3 separate regions of the Homo sapiens genome follow, and regions 1 and 2 are each linked to region 3. Evidence: promoter capture Hi-C in human tissues and cell types (Jung and others, 2019). All regions are on one chromosome and are shown on one strand. The core of a region is centred on a gene start or on the middle of the fragment in contact, and the rest is flanking DNA. Distances in the headings are between cores, read along the strand shown.

Region 1 (4,544 bases), core at 1,029-3,528, 440 kb after region 3:
CAGACTATTCTTAAAGTGAACACAAAAATCATCATTTTGGACTCCTTGTTTTCAGCATATCCAATAAACTTCAAAAACGGCAAAATAAAGAGACTTTTGGACAGAAAAATCCACCTACATCTTGACTATCAGTGACTCATTTCTTTGGTAGGCAGTAAGGGGAAGAAAGTTTGGATTCTCTGAGCTTTTTTGAAGTGCCTCAGTATAAATTCAACATGCAGTCAGAGGCAAAGCTGGGATGACAGGAGCGAAACTGGTGGAGTAAGGACCTCCGAAAATCCTCTCCTTCATTAAATCAATGAGGACACTGGGAAAAATTGTTGAAATCAATTTTTTTTCAGAACTCTGGAAATTAACCAAAGGCTTACAGCAATCTGGGGAGCATTTATTCCCCCAAAATGGCTGAATCTCAATATGAAGAACATGCCTTGTGGCATTTTAACTTGCCTCATTCCCATTCTCCCTCACCTGCCTCCCCCTGCCCCAACAGCTTGGATGTAGCCTTGAAAACCATCAGCCTGCAATCACAGGGAAAACCCAGCAGGCTGACAGTCACTGGAGTGGACAGAACAGGGCTGGAGCTCTGTCAAAGCCTCCTTACCCGGAACTTATCATTATTTGACCTGATGTTTCCCTGAAAGATCCTACTCCCAAGGCTGTCTTTATTTGAACTCAGAGTTCACTCAGTGAACACAGCCTATCATGAAGAGGCATTTGTTAGAAGAAATCAGAGGCAATTGTTGTTTAAAATCATGGCTACCTGAATAGGTGGATAACGGGGCAAATAATAGGCAACCAAAAAGCTTCAAGGGAAAAGCTGGGGAATGAGATGTCGATAGGGACTTGAAAAAGCGCCCACATATTCTTGGGAATCTAGGAAGTCACTCAGTACACAGAGCTAGAACCATTCCCAGGGAGAGGTGTGTGCTCAGGAAAGACCTGAGAAGGCCCTAACCTCTCACCTCCAACTGACCTTCAAGCTCTGCACAAGCAGGAAATGAAGGCTAAGACAGAGTTATAAACTGCCTAGCTAAGTGTTGAAGGAATGCTCCAATACAAAAAGCCCCTCAGCAAAAATTGGGAGATACTGTTCCCAGGCATTTACGGAAATTTCTATCCAACCATGAGCTGACCACTAAGCTAACCAATCAGACTCTAGTGGCCATATATAACAAAGAATACAGACTTTATAAATTTTAGAAAACTCTATAAACAAATGAACAACAAGCAGTTAACAACAACAAAACATGGAAAGGGATGAGAATATGATTTCCACAACTACTACATTATATTATTTAAAATGTCATGGGCCTAGCATGATGTCTCATCTCTGTAATCCCAGCATTTTGGGAGGCTGAGGCAGGAAGTTCAAGACTTGAGCCCAGAAGTTCAAGACCAGACTGGGCAACATACTGAGACTCTGTCTCTACAAAAAAAATAAAAATAAAGAAGATTGACCAGGCATGGTGGCATGCACCCATGGTCTCAGCCACCAGGAGGCTGAGATGGGAAGAGCAGTTGAACCTGAGAGGTTGAGGCTACAGTGAGCCGTGATTACGCCACTGCACTCCAGCCTGGGCAACAGAGAAAACTCTGTCTCAAAATAAATAAATAAATAAAATGTCCAGTTTTCAACAAAAATTTATGAGATGTGCAAAGAAACAAGGAAGTGTGGTCCATACTTATTTTCAGAAACTATGCAAGAAAGAAAAGAGTAGAGTGAAATATTTAACGTGTTGAAATAAAAACCCCACCAACCTAGAATTCCAAACTCAATGAAATTACTCTTCAAAAGTGGATGTGGATGAGAAATACTTCCCTGAGCAAACAAAAATTGAGAGAATGTGTTGCCAGCAGACTTACTTCCAAGAAATGTTAAAAGGAATTCTTCAGAAAGGCAAGGCAAGGTGCAGTGGCTCATGCCTGCAATCTCAGTGCTTTGAGAGGCTGAGGCAGGAGAACTGCTTGAGGCCAGGAGATCAAGACCACCCTGGGCAACAGAGCAAGGCCCTGTCTCTACCAAAAAAAAAAAAAAATATATATATGTGTGTGTGTGTGTGTGTGTGTGTGTGTGTGTATATGTATATATACACATATATATGTGTACATATACACATATATATGTATATATACACATATATATGTGTATATATACACATATATATGTATATGTACACATATATATGTGTATATATACATATACATATATACACACACACACACACACACACACACACACACACACACACACATATATATATATGCCAGGCATGGTGGCATGCACCTGTAGTCCTAGCTACTTGGGAGGCTCACATGGTAGAATCACTGAGCCCTGGCATTTGAGGTTACAGTGAGCTATGATCATGTCACTGTACTCTAGACTGGGTGACAGACTGAGACCCTGTCTCTAAATAAATTTTTTTTAAAAAGAAAGAAACAAAAGAAAATGAAAGAAAGATATATGTCAGAAACTCAGATCTATATTAAAAAAAGGAAGAGCATTTGAGAAAGGGCAAGTGAAGGAAAAATAAACATATATGCACCTAACAAGAGCCCCAATATACGTGAAGCAAAAACTAACTAAATTGGAAAATAGATACTTCAACAATTATAGTTAGAAACCTCAATATCCACATTTAATAATGGGTAGAATAACTAGACAGAAGATCAACAGAGACATAGAAGATCTGAACACCACCACAAACCAACTAGACCTCACAGACAACTAAAGAACACATCCAACCAACAATAGTAGAATATCATTCTTCTCAGCACACATGGATCATTCTCCAGTATAAACCATATCTTGGACCATAAAACAAGCCTCAATACATTTAAAAGGATTGAAATTATCAGAGTATAATCTCCAACCATACAGAATGAAAACAGAAATTGAATAATTCACAAATACGTGGAAATTAAACAACACACTCCTAAATAACCAATGAGTCAAAAAAAAAATCAAAAGAGAAATTACCAAATAGTTTTAGATGGATGAAAATGAAGGCACAACATATAAAAACTTACAGGATGCAGCTAAAACAGTGCTTAGATGAAAATTTGTAGATGTTAATGCCTATATTTTAAAAAGAAGAAAATCTCAAATTACTAACCTGTTTATTCCTTAAGAAACTAGAAAAATAAGAGTAAACTAAAGCCAAAGTTAGTAGAATGAAGAAAACAATAAAGATTGGAGCAGAAATAAATGAAATCAAGAATAGAAAAATAGACAAAACTAATCAAAGTTACTTCAAAAGATTATCAAAATTGACAAATTTTTAGCTAGACCAGCCAAAAACAATGAGAAAACACTCAAATTATTAAAATCAGTGATGAAAGGAGACATTACCACTAACCTTACAGAAATAAAAATGATTATAAGGGAATACTATACACAACTGTATGCTAACAAATTAGGTAACCTAGATATAATGGAAATATTCTTAGGAAGATGTAAGATACTAAAACTGACTAAAGAAAAAACAGAAATCTAGATAGAATTATGACAAAAAGATTGAATTAATAACCAAAAAACTTCCTGCAAAAGAAGTCCAGAACCAGGACCAGATGAGTTCACTAGTAAATTCTACCAAACATTTAAAGAAAAATTCAAGGCTGGGCATGGTGGCTCACACCTGTAATCCCAGCACTTTGGGAGGCCAAGGTGTGTGGATCACCTGACGTCAAGAGTTTGAGACCAGCCTAGCCAACGTGGCGAAACCCCGTTTCTACTAAAAATACAAAAATTAGCCAGGCATGGTGGCGCATGCTTGTTATCCCAGCTACCCGGGAGGCTGAGGCAGAAGAATCGCTTGAACTTGGGAGGTGGATGTTAAAGTGTGCTGAGATCAATTCACCTAACGCTTCACAAATTCTTATGAAAAATAGAAGAAAAAACATTTCTCAACACATCCTATGACGCCAGTATTACCCTGATACCAAATCAGAAAAGACATTAGAAAAAAAGAAAGTGGCCGGGCACAGTGGCTCACGCCTGTAATCCCAGCACTTTGGGAGGCCAAGGCAGGCAGATCACGAGGTCAGGAGATCAAGACCATCCTGGCTAACATGGTGAAACCCCGTCTCTACTAAAAATACAAAAAAATTAGCAGGGCATGGTGGCGGGCACCTGTAGTCCCAGCTACTCGGGTGGCTGAGGCAGCATGAACCCAGGAGGCAGAGTTTGCACTGAGCCAAGATCGCGCCACTGCACTCCAGCCTGGGCGATAGAGCGAGACTCCATAAAAAAAATAAATAAATAAAATAAAATTTAAAAAAAGAAAGAAAAGAAAAAAAGCTAAAAACCAATATTCCTTATGAGTATAGGGAAAATTCTCAAAAATAGAATCCAGCAAACTGAATGCAGCAACATATTTTTAAAAATCAGACAGCACAGTCAAGCAAAATTTATGCTAGGAATGCAAGAGAGGTTGACCAAACAAAAATCAATTAATGTGATAAACCATATTATTAATCAAGGAAAAAAAACACATAATAATCTCACTAAGTGCAGAAAAAGCATTTCATAAAATCCTACATCCTTT
Region 2 (4,650 bases), core at 603-3,102, 340 kb after region 3:
GGGTACCCCTGACCTAGGGGCTGGAGAGCTCTTTGCTGTGGGGACTCACTGCAGAGTGTTGAGCAGCATCCCTGGCCTCCGCCCACTAGATCAGTGCAGGTTTGGATCTTAATCCTGAAAGATGCAATCCCAAATGCCATAATCCCAAATGTTGAACTCCCAAAAGATCAAAATCTCTAAATTCTAAAGCCCCTAATGCCTAAAATCGCAAAAAGCACAATCTCGAAAGATTAAAACCCCAAAGCCAAATTCTAGGCAAGGGATTTGTGTGTTTTCAGTTGTACACAGCATAGTTGCATCATGTTAGGTGGAACTACAACCTTGCTATTGTCGTTATTTGGAAATTAAGTTTGGTTTAAGGAGATGCCTCTGGGTACCAAGTTGCCGAGAGCAGATTTGTGGACTTAATTTCAGGTGTCAACTTGACTGGATGAAGGCACACCTAGAAACCTGGTAAAGCACTGTGTTGGGCGTGCCTGCGAGGGCGTTTCTGGAGATTAGTGTGTGGGTCTGTGGGGGCAGGAAGGGTGCGGGGGGAAGATTTGCCCTCAGTGTTGGCGAGCACCATCCAATCAGCTGGGAGCCCAGAGAGAACACAGCTCTCCCTCGGAGCTGGGACATTTTCTGCCGCTGCCTTGGACATCGGAAATTTGACTCCACAAAAATGCATTATCACAACGTTGCCTTAGTGTGTGAGCATTGTGTGTGTTGTGTACAAACACTGAAACTCGCTCAGTATATGAAGAGACGTCATTTTTGTTCACTGCATTTGTAAAAGATAAAATTTCTCAAGATCTTGGCTCTTTGGGCAACTGTACAGGCAGTGGTGACCCATCGCGGATTTTGATTGATCTTGCAAAAGACTTAGGTTATCTGTCACGGTATTCTGAATGACTGCAGTTATGAAACTGGGTGCATGCGATTACCCACCATAGGGATATGCATTTACATGTTTCACTTTTTGACCTATTTCTTTAGGAATATGGTTCATCTGCTCATATCTGTCACACCTATGTGATGGTCACTAGTATATCTAAGTGTTTATGCTTGAAAAATATGTGTCATTTTTGCCTATTTTTTGTGTAAAGTGGCCTCTGAAGTGTTCTATTGTGTTTTTATGTTTCTCAAATAAATCCCCTTTTACAATGTAAATAAATATTTTTAAAACAATTTTTTTTTTTTGAGATGAAGTTTTCCTCTTGTTGCCCAGGCTGGAATGCAATGGTGAGATCTCGGCTCACTGCAAACCTCTGCATCCTGGGTTCAAGCAATTCTCCTGCCTCAGCCTCCCGAGTAGCTGGGATTACAGGCTTGCGCCACCACGCCTGGCTAATTTTGTATTTTAGTAGAGATGGGGTTTCTCCATGTTGGTCAGGCTGGTCTCGAACTCCTGACCTCAGGTGATCCACCCACCTCAGCCTCCCAACGTGCTGGGATTATAGGCGTGAGTCACCGTGCCAGCCTAAATAATTTTTAATTTTTTTTTTCAGAATTATATTTTCATGATTTTGATCTTCTGAGGTTTCAACCTTAAGGATGATGGCATTTGTGTCTTTTGGGGTTATGATCAGCTCCCATCAGTAGCTTCCCCACCCTCAGTGTGACAACCAAAAATGTCTGTGACATTGCCAGATATCTCCTGGGAGGAAAAATTGTCCCCATTTAAGAACCACTGTTTTAAAGTAAATAAAACTTTAAGTTTAATTCTGACAGCCTCTCTAGACAACGTGCTATTGGACAAGAAAATTAAAAAGAAACAGAAGTAACTTCACATAACGAATGAACTCAGAGGTTGCAGCTCTGGAGCAGAGAGGGAGCGCTCTGATTACCTGCAAGGCTGTTAACAGGCGCAGTTCATTAAATATTCACAAATCCCCGAGACAGGGACAGGACCCACAAAATGGGAATTAACTCCATGGTATATTTTACTTTACAGTAGAGCACAGCACTTTCAATGAACGTGCCAAGATTATAAAGCCTGTTTTTTTCTTTAAGATTCATAGAGGGCAATGAATACAGGATACGCATCAACATAAAATACTTCTCAGAGCAGAAAGCTAAATTCTAAAATTTCATATTATTAAATTTTTTAAAAAACATTTTGGGGCCCCATCACAAGATATTTGGTATTGCAAATCTGAGGTTATAATAGATATTAAAACGAAAACAGAAATAATGATAGACAAATAATCTCCATGACCCATGATATCTGGGCCACTCAGTGGCTGGAAAACAAATCAACATATATTGTTCCTTTCCATGTAACACCTAACAAATACACGTTTACCTACAATGTTACAAGGATATGCTTAGAGCTAGGGAGCAGTGCTTGCCGTGGCGGCCTGTGTGCCTGGAGCCTTTGTGGTCCATAGCTGTCTCCACCACACTCTGAGCAGGTGATGGAGTTCAGATTGTATCATCTTATGTTTCTCATCTAGAAATTGACATAACAATTATACCAACCTTATAGTTTAAGGCAGTTTTCAATAAGAAAAATTTGTAAGCAGTAAATCACTATATAAAAGTTGGCAATTATTCAATGGAGACTAATCGATCATTCAATAAATGCAGAAAAAGTAGCACAGATATTCTCTGATATTTTACATATTATGATATGTGTAACTAAAATTTGTTTTTTTTTTTTTTTTTACATACCTATTTCTTTTTGTCAGGGGACCTTTACTGCTAACTTGCAACCCCTGAGGCTCATGAAATGATGTTAGAAATTGCTTCCAATTGATTTTAGTGGTGGCTTTAAGTCCAAATCTGGATTTAAAAGTAACAACAAAAAACATTACTTTAAACATTTTTTCTATAACACTGCATGGATTAGGTACTTAATGTTGAATTGAAAATGGCAGCAATGCATTTATATGAAGTTTCAAATCTAATATAAACAAAATCACTTAGTAAAATAGTACTACAAATTGATTTTTTAAAGCAAGGAAAAATCAAACTGATATTAGATCTGCATGCCTCTATATTGTTAATGGTGGCATACACTGAAAGAAGAATCTAAGGGATTTGATTAAAATAATAATGTCCATAAAATAATTCTTTCAAATTCATCATGTGAAGAGCCTCTATGTTGTGGCAGGGAGGACAATGGCCCCCATGGGGTCCACCCTCTAATCCTGAGCCTCTGTGACTACGTTCTTGCCCCAGCAAAGAAACATGGTAGATGTGGTGGAGGGCGGATCTGGAGATGGAGCAACTCTCCTGGTTTATCCAAGTGGGCCCACTCTAATCCCATACATTCTTAAAATTGGAGAGCTTTTCCTAGCTGCAGCCATCAAAAGACATGAGGACAGAAGGGCAGAAGTGTGACGCTGGTGGCTTTGAAAGACAGAGGAAGGGGCTGTGAACCAACAAATGCAGGTGGCCTCTAGAAGCCTCTAGAAAAAGCAAATGAATTTGCCCCCAGATTCCCCAGAAGGAAAAAAGCCCTGCTGATTCCTTGATTCTAGCCCAGTGGACCCATGTTGGGCTTCTAACCTACCAAACATGAAGATAATACATGTGTTGTTATAAGCCACTAGGCTCGTGTACTTTGTTATGGCAGCAATAGAAAGTTAGTATAGATTTAAAGTCTTAGCAAGAATAATTGGAAAATTGTTCAAAAAACACATTTCCAAAGTGAATATGGTCCCATGACTCAGAGTCCAATAATTTCAGAGTTATAAGATTCCTGTGGGAGCAACCTGATGTGAGCATGGGTTTCAGAAAGACCAGAGTACCTGCTCCTGCACTTCCTACTGATGTGACCTCAGACTCGCTGCTCACTATGCTGATTCTGTATTCCTCTCATCTGTAACATGAGAATAATACCACCTCCTAGGAGGGTTGTGATAAGGATTAGAGCTAATAGGTCAAAAAGCCTCGGTTGCAGGCTGGAAAACCAGCAAGCATTCTATCACATACACTGACCTGTGTCACAAACACCTTCTGTGACTTACACACTAAACCATGCCTATCCTTCCCTAACAGGATGGCAAAAAGTAGTTTGGGCTGAGTTCCTTAGATAATTGATGTGAGATCTCAAAGTGGGCATGAAACAGACTGCCCTGTTTTGATTGCTAAAAATTAATGGCTGACAGCGAACTGGTTAGACAAACAAATTCTTTATCTACATCTAGGGTATTAAAAAATTCAGATAATAGAGGATAAAAGAGTGAATTCTGGGAGAAAATCTTTTGGTATGCTTGAGTCCCAACCCCACCACAAAAGAGAGAGTGAAGGATGCCTACTCCTCACCTGAAGCCTTGTTCCACTCAGGGAGCTTGATTCCTGTCACCTGCAATTGGGGGTGGGATGTATCAGTGCCTGACTCCCAGCTAGAAACCTTGCAGGTGAGAGATGAGCTGGCTAGCCATTGAGAACAAAAAATTTTGCGGGGGGGCGCAGGGCCGGAGGCAGGGGGTTGGTTGGATGGCTTGCTCTATCAGAGTCATCAGGAAAATAACTGCTGAGAGTTTCATGGGGATCAGACGTGAGCCACGCGAGGGAGAGTGGGCCACGTGAGGGAGAGCACGTGCACACACACACACACACACACACACACACAGCAGCATCTTCGTCTTTGCCCAAGAAAGCCACCTGGAGAAATGAACAGGCCTTAATAGAGAAGGCTTGCTTTCTCTCTTCCCAGAT
Region 3 (4,219 bases), core at 563-3,062:
GATGGATGTTGATGAGGGGTGGGTGGAGCTATCTCCCAACACACCTTTAAACACTTGGGTGTCCTTGGTGTGGAGTGTGGGGAGAGGACATGGGAGTTTGAGGAGAGAGAGGGAGAAGCCACTTGTCCCCATCGGTTCTCTGCCATGCTCCCGCTCCTGTCTGGGCTGGAGACTCCCCTGCAGGGCGACCCAGCCCTCCTAGCACAGGCTGCTCCCTTTGACTCTGGTTTGCTTATGCTGGGGACATGCTGCTGGGGTTTCACAGTCACAGGGCTTCCACGGAGAGGGTCGTGGAGGAGACAGAGTCAGATACAGAGAGACACGAGGAGGGACACAGGTGGGGATAGGCACGCCCAGGAACAGTCACTCAGAGGTGAGGGACCCCAAAGCTTGGGAGAGACACCCACAGACACAAGGGGGATGATGGGGCAGCAGGGCTGGGCTTCCAGGAGGGGTGTTGCTGTGGAAGAGTCTCACAGGCCCAGCATCCTCACTCGGGGCACGCGGGACCACCAGGAATAGACCCTACGCCACCCATACCAGACCTCAGGAAGCCGGGAAGGACGTGCAGGACCCTCCCCCTGCCTCCCCCTCCAAGCAGAGCACCGGAGGAAGCGCCTCTGATGACGAGGAGGGGAGAATGTGACTCCAGCTTTTCGGGAAGCCCCTGAAGACAGAGAGCAGGAGGGGACCGGGTGGGAGGGTGGGGGGGTCCCCGTGAAACCCACGGGCCTGGGCCTGTGGCCTCCGGGTCTCCCCCTCCCCTTCCTGGGTCTGCTCCACCGACGTCCCGCGTCCGGACTCTCCTCCCTGTGTCTGTCCTCCGGATCCTCTGCCTTCCTTCCCTCTGTCTTTCCTCCCCGTCCTGTCAGACGGTCCCGGTCCCTCGTCTGCGGCTTTCCAGGTATCTCTGTCCCTCTCTCTTTCCCGGTCTCCCTCTCACCGCCCCCCCCAACCCCGTTTTTCTGCGGCGTCCATCTGTCCCCCGTCTCCTCCTCTCTCTCTCCCTTATCATCGGTGGGACCATCCCTCTTGATTCCCCCTGATCCACCGGCCTCCTCCTCCTTCCCCGGGCGGTGCGGGCCTCCTCTCTACCCTTCCGCATCTGTCTTTTCTCCGGGCTTCCTTTTGTCTGCTCCCTCGGCGCCGGCTCTTCTGTCCGTCTGTCCCGCACCTCCCGCCCCGTCCCGGTCTCTCGGTCCGTCCCTTTCCCCGTCCACCTCCTGGCGTGTCCCCCTCCGCCCGCCCCGCCCCGCGCCCCCTCTCCCAGGAGGAGCGCCCCTCTGCGCTCGGGGTCCCGCCCCGCCCAGGTCCGCACGCGGGGTCCCCGGGAACCGCCGCCTTTCTTCCTCGCTCCCGCGCTCGCGCTTCCCCTCCCGGGGCCCCGGCCCACCCACCCCTGGTGCGGCCCCGCCGGACTCAGGAGCCCCGGCCGCCCGGGCTGCGGGGAGGGGGCGCCCCGGGCCGGCCCTAGAAGTTACTTTGCAAAGAGGCAGGGGGCGCGGGGCCGCGCGGGGCGAGCTCGGGATCCGCGGGGAAGAAGCCCTCCGGGACCGCGCCTCGGCCGCCCGAGCCCCCCGCGCCCGCCGCCCCCCACCTCGGTCGGGGGCTTACCTGGGAGCCCGCTGCCCCCGGCCAGCCGCCCGCGTGTGCCCAGGGCCAGCAGCACGCACAAGTGCCAGCGCACGGCCGCCGCGCCCATGCTCAATGCGGGCCCCGCTGGGCGTGCGGGCGTGCGGGGCGCGGGGACCCGACCGACCGGCCGCTCCCGCAGGCGCTGCTCGCTGCTCGCCGCTCCGCCACCGCTCGGGCTCCCGAGCCGCCCAGCCAGCCCGGCTGATGAGCTGACAGCGCGCGCTCATTGGCCCGTGGCGTCGGAGGGGCGGGGCGTCGCCCAGGGCCGGCCAATGGGCGCCGGCCTCCGGCCCTCCGAGGAAGAGGGGGGCTCGGGCGTCGTCGGGGGGACCCTTCCCCTGGGGCGGGCGGCAGGTGGGGGGTGTGGGCCTGGCCGGCCGGCTCGCTAGGCGCGGGGTCTAGGCCAGGCTGGGGCTGCTTGGAGGCTGCGCCCTCCCCTGCCCGCGGCGCCCCGGCCCCCGCCGTCGAGAGTGGACGCCCCTCTGGGGTAACCCCTCCCGGCCCAGAGGCAGCCTCGGGGGCGGGGATCCTGCGAACCGGGGATCCCGTGAGGTCGCCCGCCATCCGTGGGCAGTGAAACGCGCCAGCGCGCAGAGCAGACTCGCCTGCGCTGCCGTTTGCTGGACGTTTCTTGAGCACCTACTGGGGACCGAGTGCGGGCGAGGCAGCAGCGAAGGAACCGGGAGGGGAAACCTCGTGAAGATCACTTGAAAATTGACGTTCAAAACAAACGAACTTTTTAGCACTCGTCAAAGGACAGTGGCCCGTCAGTGTGCTTGTCACGGGGCGGCCGCAGGACCTGCGTCTGGAACCGGGCGGGCGCCCGGGACGGACAATGCCGCTTGGCGGTCGGTCCCGCGGGAGGCCCCCGCACGGGGCTAACCTCGGCCGGCGAAGTTCGCTGCCCGGAATGCGAGGCCGAGGCCTCCCCCTGTGACAGACCGGGCGGGGCCAGGAGGAGGGGCAGGGCGGGCATCCCGGTCCGAAGACCCAGGAACTGCTCTGGCCTGGCCTGGGGTCTACACCTGACGCCTGGCGAGGGTTGGCTTCGGGTCTGGTCCCACCGGGCCTGGGAGGGACGGGCGGCTGGAAATAAATGGCCCCTCTCAGTTCCAGGCAGGACGCTTTAAGGGACGAAAGTTCAGCAAACCCCAAGGCCCATCTCCTTGACAACCACCAATAAGAGCTCCTTTTTTCTTCTCCTGCTCTCCAGGCCCAACTCAAAGACAACTCTTTTCTCTTTTTGTCCACTCTGCCTGCACCAGTTTGAGCCCCTCCACACCAGCTCCCTTTCCTGCCCCCAACACACACACGCACACACACACACACACACACACACACACACACACACACAGTCACACATGCAGACACATGCTCTCACGTGCAATCACTCAGACACAGCCTCACACCCTCACACCCTCCAGCACACACACGCTCACACATGCTTCTTCACGCCCTCATCCAACCTACCGTAGACGAGCTCCTCAGCCCTGGAAGGTTAAATCTGTGTCCAGCCAGCTCTCACACCCCATCTGACTTCACATCAGCTTGTGGCACGGGCCTGGTGGCTGAGGCAAGGGGTCCCCTACATGGGGATCGGGGGTGTGGGGGGTCCAGAGATGCCCAAAGAAGAAGGAAGCGCTGCCTGTTGTCTCCACTGAGCCCCCACCCCATTGCTCCAGACATTTCGGTCTGCACGGCTGCTCCTGGCTGCTGGTTTAATTTGGGAGATGCTGTTGACAGGCTTTATTTTGTCCCCGTCAATTGTGTAGCTTTGAGTTTCTGCAGGGGGTGGGGAGTTCCCTCAGAACCACATATTATCTTGTGCATTGGGCAACAGGGCAAGCAGTGTGAGGTGGTGGGGGAGGTTCTTCCAGGGGGCTCTGACCTACTTGAAACAATGCCCTCTAATGTGCCTGGTCATTAGGCACCCCCCCGCCCAGCCCTAGCCAGGTGCCCCTCAAGCTTGATGGCAGCAAGAGAAGCTTCTTCCAGGCTCCATCCCCACAAATCAAGGCAGGAATGGAGGCAGGTTACTCTGTGACCCCTCAGCCCAGAGGTAGCTGTCCCTTGTACCAAGTTGTAGTCCCCAGCCTGCCCCCAAGCGATTGCTCAGGTCAAGTTTGCTGGTGAATTATCACCCTCTAAGGTGTGCAGGCAGAGAGAAAGTGGTTCCTTCTAGGCAGCTGTTGTCTATGTGGAGGACTCAGCGAGCAGAGGAGGAGGGAAATGGAGAGAAGACACACCTGTAAGCCCCTCACAGGTGAAGGAAAGGAGGCGGCCTGTGGAGCAGAGAAAGAGGAGGTCACTTCTGCCCCAGGGCGCCGTCAGGGAGGCCTCTTAGGACAGGTGACCTGGGCTAGACACAGAACATAAAGAGGATATTTGCCTAATGGATGAGAAGAACAAATAGAGAATCTGCCAAGGTCCATGAGTGAAGGCGAGGACTGAATAAGTGAGCCAGAGAATGTTCTGGAAGCATCTTGAAAACTGCAGAGCACTGTATGCACATGACAGTGATGTGCTGGAGGGCTGCGTGCAGAAACGGATGAGTCTGTTTTGCACTGCGGTGGGCTGGCAGGTG

The links. Contacts are between HindIII fragments. The study calls those that stand out against the background at their distance.
Region 1: a contact is called between a fragment that was not itself captured here and the fragment with the promoter of SCUBE1 in region 3, in 1 of the 25 tissues and cell types used here (dorsolateral prefrontal cortex).
Region 2: a contact is called between a fragment that was not itself captured here and the fragment with the promoter of SCUBE1 in region 3, in 2 of the 25 tissues and cell types used here (H1 embryonic stem cells and dorsolateral prefrontal cortex).

What each region holds. Positions count from the first base shown.
Region 1 is chr22:43,782,468-43,787,011 of GRCh38, forward strand. All of the region lies in intron 2 of EFCAB6 (EF-hand calcium binding domain 6), which reads right to left. Among named protein-coding and RNA genes, the nearest start is that of EFCAB6, 28 kb to the right of the region's middle. The HindIII fragment of the contact is 4,110 bases long and covers 224-4,333 here.
Region 2 is chr22:43,684,816-43,689,465 of GRCh38, forward strand. It overlaps EFCAB6 (EF-hand calcium binding domain 6), which reads right to left. Exons shown (of 32, transcript NM_022785.4): 11 at 2,656-2,766. Among named protein-coding and RNA genes, the nearest start is that of EFCAB6, 130 kb to the right of the region's middle. The HindIII fragment of the contact is 6,599 bases long and covers 1-4,650 here.
Region 3 is chr22:43,341,560-43,345,778 of GRCh38, forward strand. SCUBE1 (signal peptide, CUB domain and EGF like domain containing 1) reads right to left here and starts at 1,813. Exons shown (of 22, transcript NM_173050.5): 1 at 1,615-1,813. The coding sequence starts at 1,702. The HindIII fragment of the contact is 4,801 bases long and covers 1-4,219 here.